2 separate regions of the Homo sapiens genome follow, and region 2 is linked to region 1. The links are contacts of gene promoters, found by promoter capture Hi-C in human tissues and cell types (Jung and others, 2019). All regions are on one chromosome and are shown on one strand. Each heading gives the region's core, a stretch centred on a gene start or on the middle of the fragment in contact. The rest is flanking DNA. Distances are from core to core; before and after follow the strand shown.

Region 1 (4,661 bases), core at 525-3,024:
TCCACACCAGACTGCTGGGTTCCTCCTGTCCCTCAGCGATCACACATCCTCTCATCTCTGGAACTGTCAAGACTTGGCAAATGATTATTTTAGCAACAGTGGAAACCACTCTATTGCAGCCCAAAGATCTCGACTTCCCTCACAAAAGCACACACGACACAGACGAGCTGAGGAAGCAACAGTTCCAGTCCCACTCCTTCCCCCAAATTATTTATCTTCTATCAAGATTTGTGAATCAGCCGATATATGAATTAGCAAGTACTTGTTCAACACACCGTTCCCCAGCGCCCGTTCTAAGTAGATGGCTAAGGAAATACACACACACACACACACACAGAGACACACACACACAGAGACACACACACATACACACTCTTAAATCTCTTCAGGGATTAACCAGCTTCCCAAGAAGCTGGTTGGGGTTGTTGTAGTTGGCTTTTGTGGGGCGGGTAGGTGGGGGAGTGAGGAAGTTGGACGCTCTGCGTTTGCTGGAAGCTATGCTCGGCGACGCCGAGAGCCCTGGGGTGATGCTGGGTGAGCCGAGGCTGCCAGGCGCTTCCTGCCTCCCAGCTGAGCGAAAGCAGCGAGTGCGCGCAGGGCGGAATCCTGACCCCACCCGCAGGCGCCCTCCGCACCCGCAGCGCGGCCGTCCTCTCCGCCTGGGTTCTAGGGGCCATGGCGAGGGAGCCTCCAAGCCGGTGCCTAGAGAGCAGGACCTGTTGCAGAGGGAATGGGAAAGGAGCGAGGGGAAAGGGCGAAGTCGTGGGTCAAGAAGGGCGGAGAAAGAGCGGAGCTCAGAGGGGCAGAGAGATCGGGATGAGCTTGGAGAGCAGGCGAGATTCCCCAAGCTCAGAGCCTGCTGGCTGGAAAGAGGGAGGGCAAAAGGGCAGGGAAAAGAATATCGCTGCAAAGCGAAGAGAAGGACTGAGGAAACTCCAGAGAGTCACAGACAGGCGGGATTCAGGGCACTGCGCACTGAACAGATGTGAAACCCGGGGCGGGAGCGCTGCACCCTAGGTCCCCACACCTGTGGCTTTGCGGGGAGCATAGGCGCAGCTTAGATTTCAGCCCATGCCAGTCGCTGTTGAGGCCACCGAGCTGGACCAGGGTTCTGAGATGCTTTCAAGGGACAACGCTCCCCAAGATTATTCTAGGAGAGTACCGTGCCAGACAGGTTGAGACTAGGCGGACAAAAGGAGATGTAGGATGGGCGCAGAGGGAAGGTGATCTGCACCGGGGTTGGCTGTTGGGAGCTCGGGTGCCCTGGGGAAGACAGGCTGGAAGCGAGCGGGAAAGGATCAGCGGACCAGCCTGCGGCTGACTAGGGACTCATGGGCTCCCTAGAATGGGGAAAGGTGGGGTGGAGTTTTAGGAGAACGGGGAAGGTGTTTGCCGATAGAAAGGTCACAACAAACCCAGCTCCCAAAGCTGGGCCAGGGAAACGCAAAGAAATGGGGAGACAGGTCCCCTCCGGCTGGCTGATCCAGAGGAGGACAAGCGCGCGGCTCCCGCGGCCAGGACACTCACCCACCGCCCAGTGGTTGCCGCGCGGGTACATCTTGGTCAGCACGGTCCCTCCGCCCGCAGGCAGCGGGACCGCTCGCCCCCGGGGCGCCAGGCAGAGGACCAGCGCCAGCAGGACCAGCGGGAGCTCACGGCCGCGCATGGTCCCGACGGGAAGCCCTTGGAGCGCGCCGGAGAGGCTGGGAAGAGCAGAGACTGGTGACCCGGACCTCGGAGGAGCTCCGCCGCCGCAGCCGCTGGTGCTACTGCTGCGGCCTCCACTAGGGCCCCTACTTTATATGGAAGCCCGGGCGGGGGGGCTGGGGGGCTCTTCTATCGCGGACCAGAGCGCTCTGACGTCTCCCTATAGCTAACCGGGGCGCTGGGACGCCCGGTCCGGAAAACCATCCATCTCCCCGCCGAGTGATGAAAAGGCTGAGTGTACATTGCCCCCTCTTTTTTCCTCGTAGCCCCGTCCGCCTTCCCCACATCGGATTAATTCCTCCGGTCCTCGACGCCTTCCATCCAACACAATTTAGTGAACTCCTCCCTCTCCAGGCTCGCCGGCGCCTCCAGCCTTAGCTGCCTTGAGAGTCCTGGAGAGGGCGACCCCGCTGCCTGATCTGGGCCGGGAGGGGTGGGGGGTGTAGCTGGAGACGGGTGAGCTCTAAAGATGGATGGGCTTTGCTGGAGGGATTTGGAACCACCATTTGAAGGCCTTCTGATTCTCCAGACCTTTCTCTTCGTAGGCCACATCTTTGCTGTCCCAGCCCATAGATTTTGGAACCTTGCCTCCTTGCAGATCTCTCTCTCTTTTTCTGGACCTTGCCTCTTTCTTGCAGATCTCCTCCCCTCCTCTCCCCTCCTCTCCCCTCCTCTCCCCTCCCTTCCCCTCCTCTCCCCTCCTCTCCCCTCCCTTCCCCTCCTCTCCACTCCCATACCCTCCCCTCCCCTCCACTCCCCTTCTCTCTTCTCCTCCCCTTCCCATCCCTCTCTCTCTCCCCTCCTCCCCAATCTCTCTCTCTCTCTGTCTCTCTCTCCCCCTCTGCTGCCCTCCACCTTAAGGTTAAGGGCAGTATCCTTAACCCACCTGGTATTCCCAGGCAGCTCTGCCCACTTGTATGGCAAGACAGAAGATAGCTGGCCCTTTTCACAAGCATGCAACTTCCATGGAATAGAGAAAGAAACTGCTTTATGCCAGTTTCCCTAGGCTGCCTCTACCTGAAAGCTCAAACTGTCCCTAAACTGCCACATACACACCCCTCTAGAGTTGCTCAACGTTCCTCTGCTCCTTCTGTTCTCAGATCTAAAGAATGGTCACCAGCCCAATCCCCGAGGTTCTAAATACCATGGATACAAAGGGGATCAGCACCATAGCAATGCAACAATAAATAGAAGCTGGTAGGATGCTGTTGCCCACGTTTTGGCTGCCAGAGTTGGCCGTGTGGTTGGAATAGGTGAGGTCTATTCCTCCTCAAATGCTTGTTAATTGCCTCCCTGTTGGGTCTTTAGTGTTCCATGTCAACATGGTGTTGATATTGATATATTGATATTGATAAAGTTGAAAACATACACTTGTGTCTGAGTATCTGCTGATTCAATACATTCTTCTTCTTCTTTTTTTTTTTTTTTTTTTTTTGAGACAGAGTCTTGCTCTGTCACCCAGACTGGAGTGCAATGGCGTAATCTGGGCTCACTGCAACCTCTGCCTTCCCGGCTCAAGTGATTCTCCTGTCTCCGCCTGTGGAGTAGCTGACATCACAGGCATGCACCACCACGTCTGGCTAATTTTGTATTTTTAGTAGAGATGAGTTTTCACCATGTTGGCCAGGCTGGTCTTGAACTTCTGACCTCAAGTGAGCCGTGGCCTCCCAAAGTGCTGGGATTACAGGCATGAGCCACTGTGCTTGGTGTTCAATATATTCTTAAGTGATTACACACTCACATTGCATGACTGAGTACTCTTGGATCTGAAGAGTATTTTCATGCATGTGTCTGGGTCTAAGAGAAAAAAAGTCAATTTTAAGATCATTAATAGTTTGGTAGCCAACCAAATACAATAATACTATCCTCAGTGAGTGAGCTAAGTGAAAATCAAAAGAAAAAGGTCCACAGACTGGCCTGGGCTCCATCCCTCCCGGGTTCCCAGCCTCTCTGCATTCCGTTCCCAGGCTCTGTCAGTAGGCAAGTGTTCCATTGGCAGGCAACTGATCATCCCTAGGCGTGCTGCCTCCCACACAGTGAGCTTGCTTCAACACAGGGACTTGGTATTGTTCCTCTGTGTGTCTGCAGAGCACCTGGATCATAGTGGTGCTTGATAAGTATTTGGCGAATGAACAACAAACCTAAGAAATGCCCAGGTCTAAGAAATGCCTTCTGCAACCGTGGATCTTTGGAGGCGCATTAAACCCTTATCTCTCCAAATTAAGTTGTAGAAAAATGCTCTTTCTCTTTAGTTTAACCAAGATTATTTTAGAATCTTTCAAATGAAATCCTCCACCTCCTCCCATCCCCATGAAACTAAGGGGAAGCCACTGTAAAGACATTCAAGTGTAGAAATAATTGTTTAGAAAGCACAACACTTCTGCTAATTCAGGCAACACTGTTTCTTGTGTCCATTACACGCCAGGAGATACCTAGGCCCCTCCATTCACCTTAGCTCTTGCTCCAAGGCCACCCCAGCCTACAGGTTTCCTGCCTGCAGACTACGGCTGGGCCACATGACTTGCTGTAGCACCCTGTAAGGACAGCACCCATGTCATCTGGCTCGATACTGCCTCCACAGTGCCTGGCCCAGTCTTAGGCACAAAGATGGGACTCAAGAGATTTGAATCGATACATTGTCCTCCAGGAAAAGGAGGCTGAGTCCAAACTTCTAACCAGAAAAGACAGTGGACTGTTTCCAGTTAGAGAATGGAACCTTTGCATGTTTGATTCAGTTGATATGAATAAGCCCCAGTAGATCCTGGCTGGGTGTCCTCTCATACACCTCTTAAAATCCTCACTACAGACAGCTGGGTAAATATGATTAACCCCACTGACATAGTTAGGGGAAAGCTAAACTCTATGAGAAAGAGACCTTGCAATGCAATGACCCATTCAAAAGAGAAGTCTATTTCTCTTTTCTGTCCAGGGCAGGTGTTCCAGGTTGGCAGGCA
Region 2 (4,511 bases), core at 88-2,587, 73 kb before region 1:
TACGAGGGAATCTATTCCAATCTCCCATACAATAAAGGGACCCTTCCCAAACTGTCCCAGTTGAGCCTTATTTGAAAGCTTCCAGTGGTACAGAAGTCACTATCTGCTGCTCCAAGGAAATTTAACCACCAGCTCTTCCATTTGTAGACAGCTCTAGTTGTTAGAAAATCCTTCTTTGTCTTAAGCTGAAAATGGTTGCATCTTTAATCCATTGGTCATGGTTCTGTTGAATTAAACTGCACAGATTGTGCCTACATTCCCACTCAGGCTTTGATATATCCCCTCTCAGTTTTCTCTTTTTCAGGAAGACATCCTTACTTCTTTTTGTCAATTCTTATCATACAGTAGGAACACTGTGAACCCACTGGGTAATTGAATGCTGACTGCCCATGTCTAGGAGTGAAGCCAACCATGCAGAAGGCAGCAATGCTGTCCCCTTCCACACCCTGCCACTGGACTTGATGTTTGAAGCCATTCCTGAGCCAACTCATAGTCAGGAATGAGGATTTTAGTCCCAACCCCACTAGCACATGACCTCGGACCAGTTATTTATACTATCTGGAAATCCATTTTCTCAACAGTGAAAATGAGGGGGCTGGATTACTCTACCTTCTGTAATTCATTCTATGGTTTCAGGGTGGTCACTGTGGAGATTTATCTTGTGAAAGAGAGTACATTAGCCCATTGTCACTGCCACAGAACTAGGTTTCAGTCCTTTACTAGCTTCAACTGAGGAAAGGGACACCAGGCTCCAGGAGTGGCGGGGAGGAAGAGAGAGTTTTGATAGATGCTAAAAGAGAGGAGAGAAAAATCTAGAGATCCAGGGGGGCATTTCTATTCAGGCAGAAGGAACCATAATGACTCTGGGGACAGGTGCTGAAGAATAAATTCCAAGAAGACAAATTAAATGGACTTCCCAATTTTGCTTAGTCTAGTCCCAATTAGATATGGACTCCTACAGTACAATGAAGCAGGAGTTCTGCTTTTGAAGGACTATTGATATAGTGAGCTCAGTTACCCAGAAACCAACTGATCTAGTTTGTGAGTTATGTAAGTACCTTGGTTTTGCTCCTGGCACTAGAAATTTAGCCAAATTCCTGCTTACAAACAGAACCATCAGACACAGGGAGAGGAGTGAAATTAAAAGTGAAAAAACTAGAGCTTACAGCTTCTGATAGTGGAGAATAAGCTCCTACTGGATCAACCCTCCTGCAAATAACAACCATAAACTATGAACAAAATATAAAGAAACAATTGCCTGAAAGCACTGGAAGCAGCCAAAAGCAGGTCCACACTGGAGAGAAATGAAACCTGAACTGAGAAGAAGGAAAAAGCACTGGTGAGTTTTCCTTTGCTTACAGGTTTCATCTGAAGGCAGACCCCACTTGAAGCCAAGTAAGACAACTAAAACTCAGATAGAAAACCTGCAGCCTTAATGTATTGAAGAACCAGCAGAGTTTGGGGTACCCACAGCAGCTGCAAAATGAAAGAGCGAATCCTAGAAAGGAGAGAGCTATAGGAGGGGGATTTTAAATTCGTGTATAAAGTCTCTTCAAGATCCTGGCTAATCCCTGAACTATGCATAGATTAGGCATACTCTGAGCAGCCCAGTGAAGGCTAAACAAACTGAACTAAGAATTCTGTTACTGCCCACTTAAGAGAAACAGGGTTTTGAGTTTGAATCCAGCCATGTTTGCTGACTATGAAACAAACAGACAAACAAATGAAAATAATCTTCAGAAAAACATAACAGAACTCAGCAAAGTAAGTAGAAGGATGGAAACACTAGAGAGCACAAACCAATGAAATAGAAAACAGACAAACAATAGAAAAAATTAAGAAGTCCAAAAGTTGGTCGTTTAAAAGATCAACAAACTTGACAGACACCTAGCTGAATTGCTTAAGAAACAAGTAAGAGTACACAAATGACCAATATCAACATTGAAAGAGGGGATACACTACAAATCCTACAGTCATTCAAGGATAAGGGAATATTATGGAGAACTTTATGCTAATAAACTTGACAAGTATTTAGGTGAACTTAACAAATTCCTTGAAAAAAATGCACCTCACAAATACTGATGCAAGATATATAGAATAACCCTATGTCTTAAAAAAATAGAAATAATTATTAAAACCCTTCCCACAAAGAATACACCAAGCTTAGATGGCCTCACTGGTGTCTTTTATCAAATATTTAAGGGAAAATAGCACAATCTTACCCAAACTCTTTCAGAAAGAGGAAGAAGAAATTCTTCTCAAGTCATTTTATAAGGCAAATATAATCCTGATGCCAAAACCTGACAAAAACATTATTTAAAAAAAAGAAAATTGCAGGCCAATATCTCTGTTGAATTTAAATTTTTAAAATTCTCAACAACTAATAGAAAATAAAATCCAGGCTGGATGTGGTGGCTTACCACTGTAATCCCAGCACTTTGGGAGGCCGAGGTGGGCAAATCATTTGAGATCAGGAGTTCGAGACCAGCCTGGACAACATGGTGAAACTCCATGTCTATTAAAAATACAAAAAATTTACCTGGGTGTGGTGGCATACACCTGTGGTCCCAGCTACTTGGGAGGCTGAGGCATAAGAATCACTTGAACCCTGGAGGAGGAGGTTGCAGTGAGCTGAGATCGCACCACTGCACTCCGGCCTGGGTGACAGAGGGAGAATCTGTCTCAAAAAAAAAAAAAAAGAAAAGAAAATCCAGCAATACACAAAAAGGACAAAGCAATACACAAAAAGGACAATATATCATGAACAAATGAGGTTTATCTTACAAATTCAAGGTTGATTTAATTTAACATTCAAAACTCAATAAATATAATTCACCATATTAACACAATAAAGAGAAACCCCATATAATCATTTATGTCAACAGAGAAGGCATTTATCAAAATCCAATACCCATTGTTGATTTAAAACTCTCAGCAAACTAAGATTAGAATAAAACTTTATCAACTCAATAAAGAGCATCTTTGAAAAACCAACAGCTAACATCCTTGATGGTAAAACATTAAATACTTTCCTCTAGAAATGGGAACAAGACAAAGAAATTTACTCTCGTTATTTCTTTTCAACGTTGTACCAAGGCCCTGGCCAGTGCAATAAAGGAGAAGAAAAGGAAGAAAAGAAAAGATGGGAAAGGAAGATGTGAAACTGTCTCTATTCACAGATGACATGATTACTAACACAGAAAATTATAAGGAATTTATAAAACAACCACCAGAACTAATAAGTTAACTTAGTAAGGTTGCAGGAAACAATGTCAGTATATAATGATCAATTGCATTTTTATATACTAGCTGCAAACAATTCAAAAATGGAATTACAACAATTTTATTTCCAATAGCATTAGGAAACTTAAAATTGTTAGTAATAAATGTAGCAAAAGATGTAGAAGGCCTGTACACTGAAAATTGCAACACATTCCTGAGAGAATTCAAGAATACTTAAATAAATGTTTATGGATCAGAAGATTCAATATTGTCATGCTATCAATAAACAGCAAATTGATCTATAGAGTCAGTGCAGTCTCAATCATAATCCTATCATGTAGGAAAAGATGAGCTGTTTCAAAAATATAACTGGAAAGGCAAGTGTAGTAGGATATACAGAGCCATCTTGAAAAAGAAAAACAAGTTTGGAGGGTTTACTCCACTTGCTTAAGGCTGTACTATGAAGCTACAGTAACCATGACAGGGTGATATTGGTACCAATTGATACTGGTACTGATCGATACTGGTACCTGAAATAGATCCACAATTATATGTCAACTGATTTTTCTAAATTTTTATTTGGAAATAATGATAGATTCACAGGTAATTGCAAAGATAGTACAGAAAGGGTCCCATGTACCCTTCTCCCAGCTTCTCCCAATGGTTCCATCTTATATAATTACAGTGCAATATCAAAACCAGAAAATTGACAGTGGCATAATGGGTGTGTATAGTTCTGTGCCATTTTATCACACGTGTAGATTCATACATCCACTGCAATCAAGATACAGATCTGTTTCATCATCACAAAGATCTCTCTGATTCAACTCCTTTATAATCACATCTATCCTCCCTCTTCCCACTCCCAAGCCCTAGAAACCACTAACCTCCATCTCTTGGCCAATTGATTTTTGACAAAGATACCGATGCAATCCTATGAAGGAACGGAAAGTCTTTTTTTTTAATGTGCTGAAACATGTCAAACCTACACCCTTATCTCATACCATATCTAGAAACTTAATTCACTGTGGATCACAGACCTAAGCATAAAACTAAAACTGTGAAGCTTCTAGAACAAAACACAGAAGAAAATTTTTGTGATCTTGGAATAAGGAGAGCTTTTCTAGAGAATAGAAAAATTTTAAAATTGATAAATTAGGCCTTATCAAAATTTAAAACTCCTGCTCATCAGAGGATATCATTAAGAAAATAAATAGCCAAGCCACATACAAGTTACAGACTGGGAGAAAATATTTGCAAAATTTATATCTGACAAAGGACCCAGACCT

Evidence for each region. Contacts are between HindIII fragments. The study calls those that stand out against the background at their distance.
Region 2: a fragment that was not itself captured here is called in contact with the fragment with the promoter of GRP in region 1 in 2 of the 25 tissues and cell types used here (IMR-90 fibroblasts and pancreas).

Annotation. Positions count from the first base shown.
Region 1 is chr18:59,217,271-59,221,931 of GRCh38, reverse strand. GRP (gastrin releasing peptide) reads right to left here and starts at 1,774. Exons shown (of 3, transcript NM_002091.5): 1 at 1,528-1,774. The coding sequence starts at 1,666. RefSeq lists an enhancer at 1,940-2,554. The HindIII fragment of the contact is 15,677 bases long and covers 1-4,661 here.
Region 2 is chr18:59,290,030-59,294,540 of GRCh38, reverse strand. No RefSeq gene overlaps it. Among named protein-coding and RNA genes, the nearest start is that of RAX, 19 kb to the right of the region's middle. The HindIII fragment of the contact is 3,777 bases long and covers 1-3,225 here.